Linked DNA regions of Homo sapiens: region 2 is linked to region 1. Evidence: promoter capture Hi-C in human tissues and cell types (Jung and others, 2019). All regions are on one chromosome and are shown on one strand. The core of a region is centred on a gene start or on the middle of the fragment in contact, and the rest is flanking DNA. Distances in the headings are between cores, read along the strand shown.

Evidence for each region. The method cuts DNA at HindIII sites, captures the fragments that hold promoters and counts their contacts. A contact is called where the count stands out against the background at its distance.
Region 2: a fragment that was not itself captured here is called in contact with the fragment with the promoter of CHRNA5 in region 1 in 1 of the 25 tissues and cell types used here (liver).

Annotation. Positions count from the first base shown.
Region 1 is chr15:78,564,264-78,567,177 of GRCh38, reverse strand. CHRNA5 (cholinergic receptor nicotinic alpha 5 subunit) reads right to left here and starts at 1,658. Exons shown (of 6, transcript NM_000745.4): 1 at 1,353-1,658. The coding sequence starts at 1,458. RefSeq lists a silencer at 1,371-1,460 and an enhancer at 2,271-2,460. The HindIII fragment of the contact is 8,456 bases long and covers 1-2,914 here.
Region 2 is chr15:78,600,199-78,603,032 of GRCh38, reverse strand. CHRNA3 (cholinergic receptor nicotinic alpha 3 subunit) reads left to right here. Exons shown (of 6, transcript NM_000743.5): 5 at 769-1,780. Among named protein-coding and RNA genes, the nearest start is that of CHRNA3, 19 kb to the left of the region's middle. The HindIII fragment of the contact is 3,886 bases long and covers 1-2,834 here.

The sequences.
Region 1 (2,914 bases), core at 409-2,908:
GGGTTCACGTCATTCTCCTGCCTCAGCCTCCCGAGTAGCTGGGACTACAGGCGCGCACCACCACGCCCGGCTAATTTTTTTGTATTTTTAGTAGAGACGGGGTTTCACTGTGTTAGCCAGGATGGTCTCGATCTCCTGACCTCGTGATCTGCCCGCCTCGGCCTCCCAAAGTGCTGGGATTACAGGCGTGAGCCACCGCGCCCGGCCCGCCATTTCTTAAAGAAGGAAAACAGCTGAGAGAAGTTCGTCCAGTCAGGATGCACCAGAGCCATAATTTGAATACAGGTTTGCCTGGCTCCAAAATCACATTCCTTTCTTTCTGTTTAACTCTCTCTGCCCAGGATTTTCTTCATTTGTTTAAATCACCCTCCATCTTATTTCTCTTCGGTCTACACTAAGCAATACATCCTGCAATGAATTATTCTAGTCTTATTACTTCCTAAAATCAGGAGCCATAGATTAAAAACCTTAACAAAGGAAAGGCAAGAAAAGGTTCTTGCAATATTTCCACTATTTAAGAAACTCACTCATAAAACCTGAAATACAGACGTAGTGAACTTCTGTAATCATATCTTGCTTAACGGATGCTTAGCTTTTCTACGTTTAGATCACACCATAGCTGCTCCACAAACGTGTTTTTCTTCAAGGTATTGAGAGAACTGACTCTAAAACTTTCCCAAGCACTTGAAACATGTAGGACTACGCGATTTCTTTTGTTGTTTCCATTCCTGTCCAAAACCTCTTGAAAAACAGCAGGCTGAAAAAAGCTGTGCTCTAAGGAGCTAGTGAGGAACTCTGGATGCAAACGATTAGCCCCGAAGCCAGGGAAGTTGGCCGCCTAGCCTGCTACAACACACACCTTTCATCTCCGGCGAAAGGAAAGGTTTTCAAATGCTGCGGTGGGTAGGGGACAGGGATGGAGGAAGAGGCGGCGGGCAGGAGGTGGAAGATAAGTCCCAACCCCTAGAATGAACCCCAGAGTCTCTATATCCCGTAAATGGGCAACAAAATGGGAAGCTTGGCTGCCACCAGGACAGGAAAGCCCTGCTGGACAAGAGTGGCATCTTTTACTGAAAAAGTTGTGTGGAAGTATACGCTAAGCCAGCCTCGTAGTCTCCAGCGATGCAGGTCGTGGAACAACAAAGAAAACCCACCCAAGTAGCCCTTTCTCTGCATTTAAATGAGCAAATCTGGACATTTAAACTGAAACCTCACTCCAAGCCCCCAGGAGAAAAAAACCCACCTCCCCTCGCAACCAGGTTTTCCGGCGGCCGTCGCCTGGCGGCTTCCTGGGCACCGCGATGTGGAGTCCGGGCCAGCTCCCGCCCCGCCCCTCTGCAGCCCGGGCTTACCTCTCTGCGCGCCGCCCGCCGCGCCCGCTAGACCGCAGCGCCCCGCGACCAGCTGGACCAAGAGCAGCAGGCGGAGCGCGCGGGGCCCTGACCCCCGCGCCGCCATCGCCCCGCGCCCGCGCGGGACCGCGGGCAGCCGCCTCTCGACCGCCGCGCGGGGAACGCGAACTCTTGGGGAATGGAGCACTGAGTGTGAGTCGTGAGACAAAACGAGGGCAGACGCAGCAGAGGGGCCGCTCCGCGCCACAGCTCCCGCCGGGACAGCAGCCTCAGCCTAGCAGCTTCTGGCGGGCTCGGGACGCATGTGGAAGCTCCCGGCGCCTAGCCCCGCCCCTATTTCCCTCTGGCCCCGCCCAATCCTCGCCTTGTTCCTTTTGGCCCAGTCCGGTCTATTCATAGCCCCGCCTCCGATCCCCACCAACCCTTTCCCCACCCCGCCCCGCCTCTGGTCCAACCCTGTCTGCTCCTAGCTCCTCTTTTTCCACGCCTGGCCCAGCCCCATCGCCCTGGCCCCCGCCTCCAGGCCTTCCTTTGGGCAGGTGCGACCCTGGAGCAGAGTTCCAGGAAGGCAAAGACTTGAGGCTGGCATCGCAGGCGCGTCCTTCTCTAACCACCGGATGTCCTTGGCCTAGTCACTGCACACCTTAAGATAACAGCTATTCATTGATGTCTGCTCTGTGCTCAGCACCAAAAGGGGAAGCAGAGGGACAGATTGCTCCCAGCTGATAGAAAATGTAAATAAAGTAATTCCGAGTTGTGATCAGAAAGAAACAAGCTGGAGGCTGGGGCAGAATCACAGTGGTGGGGGACTTGCTCCAGGCTGCAGCGCTCTCCATGGGCCCCGCTGCCCACTCAAGTCTTTCTCACCAGGAAGTACCAGTCGCAGCTTGACTGCCTCCTGGGGCTGTCGTGTCAGCCAAGGGGTCCCCACCAGGAGACCTGTGTTGTGGACCAGCGAGACAACCCTGGGCAAGTCACTTTCCTCTCTGGGCCTGTTTCCTCGTCTGGAAGCGAGGAACCGAGGCAGATAAACTAGAGGACTCGGGAAGGTACAGCTCTGACACTCACTCAAGCCATCCCCGGAAATGATATGCAGTCGCCTCAAACGTGGGCATCGCCCTCCGTGTTGTCATCAATTAACATTTGTAAATATTAGTGACTATCTGCTACAGACACTTAGCACCTCTGGTGGAGATTGGTGCCGACTGCTGGAAACCCGTCTCAAATCCCTCCAGACCCTATATTTCATCCTCTCTGTCCATAATTAGAAAGCTTCATTTGGCTGAAGGGATTCAGGCGAATTATCTTTAAACTTCAGTGGCAGAGGGAGCCGCTGACTCTTCACAGAACGCTTTATGGAGGTGACACCTCTAAGACTCATTGTGAGCAAAAATTTCACTCCACCCTCCAGACTAGTAAATCTGTGAAAAACTAAACCTGGTTGCAAAGAATCTAAACAGCAAAATTCAGTGAAGATGCTCTTCTTAGGTCCAAATACAGCTGGAAAAATGTAAATTACATCCAATGGAGCCAATCTGTTTAAACAGGACTTAAACAAAGGG
Region 2 (2,834 bases), core at 198-2,697, 36 kb before region 1:
AAAAATGTCTATTTCTGTGTGAAAATAAATGTCAGGATGCACATAGTGAAAAGGAAGGGAGAAGAAACATGGGGAGAAAATGGGGATAGGGACACAGAAAGTGAAGAAACCTGTTAGGCTGAATTCGAAAGACAAGGAAGCAAAACATGATTATTGTAAAACAGTACTGGGAAGAATGGGGGTGGGGAGGGTACAGGGAATGGTCAAATCAGGATCCAGAGATAGGGTTTGGAAGTAAATCCATCTGACAAGGTTCCGTTTAATGGGGGTGGACTCCCCTGGGTGGTCTGTGCAGCCCCTTCCACATCCATAGTCTGGTTTCACACACACATTAGGCGCCCGGTACAGACTGAATGAGGAGAGGGCCAAGCCTCAGGGACCCTGGGTGGCAAATAATCCCAAAGGCTGCTTCAGCACCTGGCTCCAGGAGGATGACCTTCCTCCCATTTCTTTAATTAAAGGGGGACCAATCCTCTTCGGGCATTTGGGAGTCTATCAGTTTGGGACCTGTATTGTGGGATGAACTGGTGGCCTGCCCTGGGGCAGGGAGTGATCCATATCTCAGATTGTTGTTGGGGAGGGAGCTTGGGCCTCAGTATCCCTGTTGGTAAATGGGGCCAGGAAATGGGTGACCTTTTATGGCACTTTAGCTCTCATCTTCCAGTGCCTTCCAAATCATTACTTACTGTGAGAAGCTGGTTGAGATGACCACAATATGACCAAGTGTTAATGACCGTGTGTCACTGTGCCCCCTCTTTGTCTTTGCAGTGCTGTTGGGGATTTCCAGGTGGACGACAAGACCAAAGCCTTACTCAAGTACACTGGGGAGGTGACTTGGATACCTCCGGCCATCTTTAAGAGCTCCTGTAAAATCGACGTGACCTACTTCCCGTTTGATTACCAAAACTGTACCATGAAGTTCGGTTCCTGGTCCTACGATAAGGCGAAAATCGATCTGGTCCTGATCGGCTCTTCCATGAACCTCAAGGACTATTGGGAGAGCGGCGAGTGGGCCATCATCAAAGCCCCAGGCTACAAACACGACATCAAGTACAACTGCTGCGAGGAGATCTACCCCGACATCACATACTCGCTGTACATCCGGCGCCTGCCCTTGTTCTACACCATCAACCTCATCATCCCCTGCCTGCTCATCTCCTTCCTCACTGTGCTCGTCTTCTACCTGCCCTCCGACTGCGGTGAGAAGGTGACCCTGTGCATTTCTGTCCTCCTCTCCCTGACGGTGTTTCTCCTGGTGATCACTGAGACCATCCCTTCCACCTCGCTGGTCATCCCCCTGATTGGAGAGTACCTCCTGTTCACCATGATTTTTGTAACCTTGTCCATCGTCATCACCGTCTTCGTGCTCAACGTGCACTACAGAACCCCGACGACACACACAATGCCCTCATGGGTGAAGACTGTATTCTTGAACCTGCTCCCCAGGGTCATGTTCATGACCAGGCCAACAAGCAACGAGGGCAACGCTCAGAAGCCGAGGCCCCTCTACGGTGCCGAGCTCTCAAATCTGAATTGCTTCAGCCGCGCAGAGTCCAAAGGCTGCAAGGAGGGCTACCCCTGCCAGGACGGGATGTGTGGTTACTGCCACCACCGCAGGATAAAAATCTCCAATTTCAGTGCTAACCTCACGAGAAGCTCTAGTTCTGAATCTGTTGATGCTGTGCTGTCCCTCTCTGCTTTGTCACCAGAAATCAAAGAAGCCATCCAAAGTGTCAAGTATATTGCTGAAAATATGAAAGCACAAAATGAAGCCAAAGAGGTAAGGATATGGCTTTTATTACATTGGTCATTCATTCATTCAACAAATATTTATGGGTTCCTCGTGGGGCAAGGCATAGGGTAGGGGGTTAAGAAATTGCCCTCTGGAGTCAGTGGCCTGTGTTAAGACCAGTTATATGTCCTTGGGTATGTTACCTCACCTCTCTGAGCCTGTTTTCTCTTCTGTAAAATGGGATGATAAAGCTTGGTATGTGGTACCCTGAAGCTAGCCACCAGGCTGCCAGCAGGCTGGCAGGCTGGACCATGAAAACACCTGATGCCAATAGACTAGATTAGGATGTAGGCTGGAAAAGGGCATGGGGCCAGATGATCTCCAGTTAGTATTGGTTAATTGAGGTTATATTTTTATTTTTATTTATTTTTTTGAGACAGGGTCCTGCTCTGTTGCCCAGGCTGGAGTGCAGTGGCGCAATCTTGGCTCACTGCAACTTCCGCCTCCCAGCTCAAGCGATTCTCCCACCTCAGTTTCCCGAGTAGCTTGAACTACAGATGCCCCGCCACCATACCCTAATTTTTTTGTACCGATGGGGTTTTGCCATGTTGCCCAGGTTGGTCTCAGACTCCTCGACTCAATCTGCTCACCTCAGTCTCCCAAAATGCTGGGACTACAGGCATGAGCCACCGCACCTGGCCTTTATTTTTACTTTCTAATTGTATATGTGTTCTCACTGAGGAAGAATTTACGTGGAGTAAAGTGCACACCTCTTCAGTGTACATCTCAATGAGTTTTTACATCATGTATACAACCATGTAACCAAGACCCAGGTAAAGATATAGAACACTCCCAGGGCCCCTAGAAAGTTCCCCAATGCCCTTGCCAGTCAGTGTCTCCCTCCCTGCTTGGTACCCACCATCCTGGCTTAGGCGCAGTGGCTCACGCCTGTAATCCTAGCACTTTAGGAGGCTGAGGCAGGTGGATGGCTTGAGATCAGGAGTTTGAGACCAGCCTGGGAAACATAGCGAAACCCCGTCTCTAACAGAAATACAAAAATTAGCCAGGCGTGGTGGCACGTGCCTGTAGTTCCAGCTACTCA